Linked DNA regions of Homo sapiens: region 2 is linked to region 1. The links are contacts of gene promoters, found by promoter capture Hi-C in blood cells and fetal thymus (Javierre and others, 2016). All regions are on one chromosome and are shown on one strand. Each heading gives the region's core, a stretch centred on a gene start or on the middle of the fragment in contact. The rest is flanking DNA. Distances are from core to core; before and after follow the strand shown. Region 1 holds the start of DNAJC28 (DnaJ heat shock protein family (Hsp40) member C28). Region 2 holds the start of LOC105372787 (a long non-coding RNA gene).

What was found. The method cuts DNA at HindIII sites, captures the fragments that hold promoters and counts their contacts. A CHiCAGO score of 5 or more calls a contact.
Region 2: a fragment that was not itself captured here is called in contact with the fragment with the promoter of DNAJC28 in region 1 in 1 of 17 cell types (total B cells); the score reaches 5.2 in total B cells.

Annotation. Positions count from the first base shown.
Region 1 is chr21:33,490,022-33,494,074 of GRCh38, forward strand. It overlaps DNAJC28 (DnaJ heat shock protein family (Hsp40) member C28), which reads right to left and starts at 1,695. Exons shown (of 2, transcript NM_001040192.3): 1 at 1,581-1,695. The HindIII fragment of the contact is 6,958 bases long and covers 1-4,053 here.
Region 2 is chr21:33,193,943-33,197,995 of GRCh38, forward strand. LOC105372787 (a long non-coding RNA gene) reads right to left here and starts at 1,575. Exons shown (of 3, transcript XR_937675.3): 1 at 1,369-1,575. The HindIII fragment of the contact is 476 bases long and covers 1,836-2,311 here.

The DNA of each region.
Region 1 (4,053 bases), core at 445-2,944:
AGCTCAAACGATCTGCCAGTTTCTGCCTCCCAAAGTGCTGGGATTATAGGGGTGAGCCACTGTGCCCAGCCACATTCTTTTTTCTTTTCTTTTCTTTTCTTTTTTTTTTTTTTGAGACAGAGTCTCACCCAGGCTGGAGTGCAATGGCATGATCTCGGCTCACTGCAACCTCTGCCTCCCGGGTTCAAGCGATTCTCCTGCCTCAGCCTCCCAAGTAGCTGGGATTACAGGTGCACGACACCACTCCTGGCTAATTTTTGTATTTTTAGTAGAGACGGCGTTTCACCGTGTTAGCCAGGATGGTCTCGATCTCCTGACCCTGTGATCTGCCCGCCTCGACCTCCCAAAGTGCTGGGATTACAGGCGTGAGCCACCGCACCCAGCCCCACCAGCTGCATTCTTATAGCTATATTTCACTGATGTGGGCAGAAAAGTGGAAGCTGATGAAGTTTAGTGTTAACATATTGTGGGGCCAGGCACGGTGGCACACGCCTGTAATCCCAGTACTTTAGGAGGCCGAGGTGGGTGGATCACCTGAGGTCAGGAGTTCGAGATCAGCCTGGCTAACATGGCAAAACCCTGTCTCTACTAAAAATACAAAAATTAACTGGAGGTTGCAGTCCCAGCTACTCGGGAGGCTGAGGCAAGAGAATCGCTTGAACCCGGGAGGTGGAGGTTGCAGTGAACCGAGATCGTGCCACTGCACTCCAGCCTGGGCAACAGAGTGAGACTCTGTCTCAAAAAAATATAGATAGATAGAATCTGGATTCTACCCCTCACTAACTAACCGTATATTTTACAAGTGGAAAGTTCTTAGAGATCATCTAATCCAATCTTCTCATTTAATGAGAAAACGTAGGTCCGGAAGGTTAAGCAATTTAACCAAGTCCCATAACAAGGTGTAAGCAAAATGGTTAGGGGTGGGCACAGTAAAAAAGGAGGCTTGCTTAACTGTCTATACCTCCAGCCGATTATAAACTGCACGAGAGTCTGCATCATCTCAAGAAGTCTTCTCATAAGACGACTTATGGACAAGGTACGTACCTGGTCTGATACTGGATTGAATAGAATCAAGTGTCCAAAAGACTTTAAGCTCCACAGCTCGCTAGGAAGGAGCTATCTGCCAGAGGCCAGAAAAACCATGATGAATTGTGAGGCCTCCCAACACGTTTGCTGCTATTGCAATAACATGGTCTCGAAGAGGAGGAAGACTTGTACACTGACAATGGCCAAAAAATACTGGAAGTGGCTTAATTGGAATTGGGATATATAAACGCTAAAACGGAGCTCCTGAGACCCCCTATTTTCTAGGCAATCGGTGCCAACGGTCTGGGAGCCGGCTGCGAAGGTGGTTATCATGGCAAGGGAGGTCGGTCCTGCCCCGCCCCCTCCTCACCTGCGCAGACCTGGGGTAGGGGTTCCGCGGCTCCCGCCCCCCTGCCGCGCCTCTGCGCATGCGTGCGCGGTCCGCCCTTCACTGCGGGTGTCCCTCCCACCGCCTCCAGCTGGTGCCTCCGCCGGGCTAGACCATTTGCCACTTTACACTGAGGGGCTCGGGGGTACGGAAGGCAGAATCGTACCTGATTGGGACAGGTGACCTTACCAGGAAAACGGACAATCTTCCGCCAAACGAACTTTACCCCGGAGGACCCAGGCAGGGCACCTCGGGAGCCTTCGTCCCGACCGGGGACCACCAGCTCCACCTCCGTCCCCGCCCCGAGCGGAGGTGGTCCGGCCGATTGGGATTGTGGGAGATGTAGTTCGCTAGAAGGGGCGATGTGCGCCTGCGCCTCTCGGGAGGGACTTAGGGGGCGTCGAAAATGATGTAAAGACCGAGTTGGCGGCGTGGGGAGTTGTGGCTCGGAGGGCGAGGGTAACTTTCTGGGGGCAGGGGAAGGCAAGGCTGTTTCCCCGGAACGGGACCGGAACAGGTTTATTCGGGGTCACAGAAGGAGTCACCTGCGCAGATACATGAGGCTTAAAACCTGCCCTTTTATTAATTCAAGTACTGTTGAGGGGCTGGCGACAGGCCAGAGGACAAAATCAAAATAGGGATCTTCTGGCTTGGAGTTCAACCACTGACGTGGGGACTGAGCATTTCCCCTCTCTGTACAGGAAGCAAGTTTTTTAACAAGGAAAAAGAAAAAGGATAAAAAGAAAAAGGCAGAGGCTTGGGAGTTTTCAGATCTGGGTTGAAAATCCTGTTTCTTCTGCTTGCACCTTAGGCAAGATACCTGCAAAATGAGAGTTGCAATAAATAGTAAACTATAGTAAATAGTATGCCATTGTGCTAAGTGCTTTATGTATATTCTCATTTACTTTTTTTTTTTTTTTTTTGAGACAGAGTCTCGCTCTGTCGCCCAGGCTGGAGTGTGGTGGCGCGATCTCGGCTCGCTGCAACCTCCACCTCCCGGGTTTAAGCTATTCTCCTGCCTCAGCCTCCCGAGTAGCTGGAATTACAGGCGCGCACCACCATGCCCAGCTAATTTTTTTGTATTTTTAGTGGAGACCAGGTTTCACCATGTTGGCCAGGCTGGTCTCGAACCCCTGAGCTAAGGTGATCTGCCTGCCTCGGCCTTTCAAAGTGCTGGGATTACAGGCATTCATTTAATCTTTACAACAGCCCTCTGAGATAAATGCTGTTATTTTCCCTATTTTACATATAATGAAATAATAATTGTATCAACTTCATTGACTTTTTTAGGGGGAGAATTACACAATGTATGTAAACCACTTGGCACTGTGCCTCGCACATTAAGCAATATTTTTTGTTATGACTGTGTCTCCTAAAAGGAGCCAGAAATAGGTATTAGCCTCCTCAGCTTCTACATCATAAACATTAGAATCATTTATTGCCATCTATGTAGGAACACAGAAAAAGATACAGTATAAACTCTGATTCTGAGGGCTTTAGTTATAAGCAAACAATCAACAAAATAACTCATGTGAAAGAAAATAGGATTTCTGGCCGGGCGCGGTGCTCACGCCTGTAATCCCAGCACTTTGGGAGGCCGAGGCGGGCGGATCACGAGGTCAGGAGATCGAGACCATCCTGGCTAACACGGTGAAACCCCGTCTCTACTAAAAATACAAAAAATTAGCCAGGTGTGGTGGCGGGCGCCTGTAGTCCCACCTGCTCGGGAGTCTGAGGCAGGAGAATGGCGTGAACCCGGGAGGCGGAGCTTGCAGTGAGCCTAGATCGTGCCACTGCACTCCAGCCTGGGCGACAGAGCCAGACTCCGTCTAAAAAAAAAAAGACCTGGCCACTAAAAAATTTTTAAAAAGAAAAATAAGGCCAGACGCAGTGCTCACGCCTGTAATCTCAGCACTTTGGGAGGCTGAGGCAGGTGGATAACCTGAGGTCGGGAGTTTGAGACCAGCCTGACCAACACGGAAAACCCCCATCTCTCTAAAAATACAAAAAATTAGATGGGCGTGGTGGCGCATGCCTGTAATCCCAGCTACTCGGGAGGCTGAGGCAGGAGAATCGTTTGAACCCTGGAGGTGGAGGTTGCAGTGAGCTGAGATTGCGCCACTGCACTCCAGCCCAGGTGACAGTGCGAGACACTGTCTCAAAAAAAAAAAAAGCCACCAAGCAAAACTTCCTAAAAGTTGCCAGTAGCCATCCCCCTCTTCTGCTTCCAGGCCCAGTAAGGTGCCTTATATCTCTCAATCTCATCCTTCTCCCAGCCTTGCTTCTAAATGCACTCCAAGGCCAGGCACAGTGGCTCATGCCTGTAATCCCAGCCCTCTGGGAGGCCCAGGTGGGAGGATCACTTGAGCCTAGGGATTTGAACCAACCTGGGCAACATAGGGAGACCCCATCTCTATTTATTTAAAAAAAAAGTAAAATTAAAATACACTCCAAGTGTCAACACTTCACGCAGAAAACAGAAATGTTGAAGTTAGCCTTGCTTCCCCAGCTGCTCAAGGACCTTTTGAAATCTTCAACTGAGTGCCCAGCGAAGGCTGGGGAAGGGGCGGGGACTGTCCATCCTCCTTCCCAATACCAGTGGTTTATCAGTGTATTCAGCCCACAAAGCAAGTCCCTTC
Region 2 (4,053 bases), core at 824-3,323, 300 kb before region 1:
TTCCCCACTGTGATCCATTCACAATGGAGTATATTCCTGGAGGATTCTAAGATGTGTTTTGTTCACTAGAGAAGACTTTTTAGGAGTGTTTAGTTTAGGAAATGCTTAGCTGGCTATAGAAGACAGGCGCACATTCTTATCTGACTACAGAATCCAGGTGTCACCTGTGGAGTTAACACAAGGCCACAGATGGCCGCCTTCAAGGTGACCCTGCCCAGAGCCTAGGGAACAAGGTGAGGGTTGACTGAGAAGGGAAATGGTGGTCCTGCTGAGAAGGACATTCCCCAAGCTCATGGTCTGGTCCACAAGCCATCGGTCACACAGAGGGTCACACAGATATGGGATGCCCAGTTAAATTTTAATTTCTGATAAACAATGAATTTGTTTAGTATAAATAAATATGTCGTAAATATTGTATGGGACATACTAAAAACATTACAATATAATTTAGTACATGTACTATGTACTAGTATATGTACTAAATTTTATATATGTGTATTTTAATATTAAAAGTTAGGCCAGGCACGGTGCTCACGCCTGTAATCCCAGCATTTTGGGAGGCCGAGGCGGCCGGATCACCTGAGGTCAGGAGTTCAAGACCAGCCTGGCCAACATGGCGAAACCCTGTCTCTACTAAAAATACAAAAATTAGCTGGGTATGGTGGCAGGTGCCTGTAATCCCAGCTACTCAGGAGGCTGAGGCAAGAGAATCTCTTGAACCAGGGAGGCGGAGGATGCAGTGAGCCGAGATCGCACCACGGCACTCCAGCCTGGGCAACAGAGTGAGATTCTGTCTCAAAACAAAAAAAAAAAGGAAAAAGAAAAAGAAAAAAAGTTAGTATGTTATACCCAACACATATTCAAGGTTGATCTGAAATTCAAATGCAACTAGGTATCTTGTATTTTTGCTAAATGTGGCAACCCTCGCACACAGCGATTCGCTAGTGGCTTTGGAGGGCAGAGGAGGTAGTTCCCTGAGCCCTCCACGTGACTTTTCCTTCTGTCCTCCCCTTCTCTGCTCAGAGGCCCCTTCCTGGGAGAAGGCTTCGCTGATCACTCTGTATACCACTGCACCCTTTTCCCACACTCCCGGCCCCCTTAGCCTGCCTTTTCCTCCATAACTTATCATTGGATGACATACTACATACTTTGAGTAAATGATTTTTTTCATCTTTATTCTCAGCCCTTTGTATTATGTCTGCCACAGAGTGGGCCTTAAAAAATATTTGTGGAACTGCATGAATGAGAGTGACTCCATGGACAAGGATAAAACACTGAAAGTAAAATAAAGGCAGAACTAAGGTAAATGAGTATTGCCATTTCGACTCACCTGATAGATCTGTGTGTTTTAGTCAGTGCAAAACTCACCTGGCGAAGGGAACACCAATGAATAAGATGACGATTAGGTAGGTCCAAGGTGGGGCCCAAGATTCTGTAGCCCTACCACGTTCCCAGGTGATGCCGATGTAGCAAAGAGAGTCCTTGAAGAGAGGCAGGGCACGGTGCTCACGCCTGTAATCCCAGCACTTTGGGAGGCTGAGGCAGGCAGATAGTTTGAAGCCAGAAGTTTGAGACCAGCCTGGGCAACATGGTGAAATCCAGTCTCTACCAAAAAATACAAAAGTTTATCAGGCATTGTAGCATACACCTGTAATCCTAGCTACTCAGGAGGCTGAGGCACGAGAATCACTTGAACCCAGGAGGCGGAGGTTGCAGTGAGCCAAGATCACACCACTGTACTCCAGCCTGGGTGACAGAGCAAGACTCCAACTCAAAAAAGAAAAAAAAAAAAAGAAAGAAAAAGAAAAAGAGAGAGAGAGAGAATCATTGAAGAAAGCTTGGATCCAGGTAAAAATAAAGAGCAGGACACAACCAGAAAAGTCTGTGGTTCTGTTATATCATTGGACAGTGTAATGAAATGTAATGTGTTTTAAAAAATAAAAATTCTATATTCCTAAATCTTGAATAGATTCCTATTTCAGAAACCATCCATTCTGATGAGTCTCCCTTAGCTCTGAAAGAAAGAGGATAAAAACCAAATACAAGAATAATAAAAACCACCTGTCCAAGATGAACTGGAGAAAGGGTGCTAATCTCCCTGCGACAACTCCTACAACTGTATTTGATCAGGATGATAAGAAAAGTTTTAACTCATGCCTCAAGCAGAGCCACAAGACCTGCCTTTTTTGATGACCTTGAATTCTACAACACAGGCTCCAAACCTCACATCTTGTCAACTCTCACCATGAGAAAAGTAGGAAACACTCTCTCACGTTCCCAAGTACTCACCATACCCCCCAAAATAAGTAAAAGCTTACTTTAAAAAATAATTTGTTTTCAGAGCAGAAATCTTCTAAAAGTTGAATTCTGATTCCGTACACACCTGCGGAGAGGTACTTGCCATGCCCACTGTCTAATATGCTTCTCTTTCTATGAACTAGGGTAGGGGTTACAAATAGCTGCCATAGAGTTACTGTCATTATCAGCCTGCAATCTGTGAGCAGCTGTTAAAAACCCACATTTTGTCTCAATTGTAATCATTCAAACAAATAATGCTTACCTACAGTTCAAAAGAAGTCAGTCTGGAATTAAGTGCTGTTCATACCAATTATGTTTCTTCTTTCAGATGTATGGAAAGGGAAAATAAATTATCCATTAAATTGCAGATATATGTAAAGATGCTTTTTGTAGTAAAAGCCAAAACAACTTGAATCTGACCTGTGATTAGAAATAACAGACATTTGAAATTCAGTAACTTAATTCATTGACAATATCACCAGGTTAGTTATCAATGATTCATTCAGTTTTCTTTTAAGCATTATTAATTGCTTGATACCATTTAGGATCAGGAAACCCTTAGTGCAGTGAAAATTGTAAAAGTTTATGACCTGGGAGGCCCGTGTCTAGCCATGCCTCTGTCAGGAATCTGTGGTGTGACTTCTGACAAGAGTTTTATCCCTCTGGATCTGTTTCCTTGGCTGGAAAGTGAGGAAATCGATCCAAAGATTACCTCGCAGATTCTCTCCAACTCTGACATTCTATCATTTCACACTCACTTTAAAATAGACTGTCGGCGACCCTACGCCAGTTTTCCTTGAGAAACAGCGCCACCTTCAGGTCATAATAACCATAAGAGAGCTGACCGTGAAGGTGCTTCTCCGGCAGGAGCGATTTGCCCTGATCCACAGAAACCCTTCCCCCGCAGTCCTCTGGGATGCGGTCACACACTTGTGAGTCTGCCGCTGGGTTAAGATCAATGCGTATGGACATGGAGCCAAGCTGAGCTAACTGGCCCACAAGGGACAGATGCATGACCTTGGCCTAATTATCACAGCTCCAGCTAACAGTTCGCCCACAGCAAAGCTCCTTGTGGAACCCTATAAAGAAGGAAAGGAAGCGAGGGATATGCTGGATGAACTAAACTCTACAAAACAATGAAAATGGACACACCTCTTCTTCAGGCAATTCCACTTAAGATAGTTTCCAGCTGTTCTTATTTTAGCAAGATATCTACTTGGATATACTTTCATTAAGAAAAATGACATAGTGAACTCTGAAGTAAATATCAGATTTTTTTCACCCAGCAAATATTTATTGAGCAACCAACCACTTGAATGCCAGCACCGTGCTAAAAGCTCTCACAAAATTACTTTTATTGAATTTCCACAACAGCCCTTGTGAGAGAGGAATTCATATCTTCATTTTTCAACACAAGGAAGTTGAGAATGAGAGAGGCCCAGAAACAGCAGATCTGGCAACAAGCTTGAATATGCAGACACAAACATTCCACACAGTCCTCCTCTGAGGACACGACGCAACTGCTCCTTTTCAAGAGCTTATCACTTGGCACAGTGTGGCACCAACTGCAATCAGCAGTGCAGAGGCAAAGGCCGCTAGGGAACTCAGTTTATTTCTCTGCAGTGTGATCTGTATGCAGAAAATGGCCCTATCTTTGCCAGCCATCCTCTGCCATACCTCCCTAACCCACTGATGGATGCTGGGCAGGATAAGGGGGATAAGTTAATTTGTTCCTAAGTGTCTAAACAAGGATCC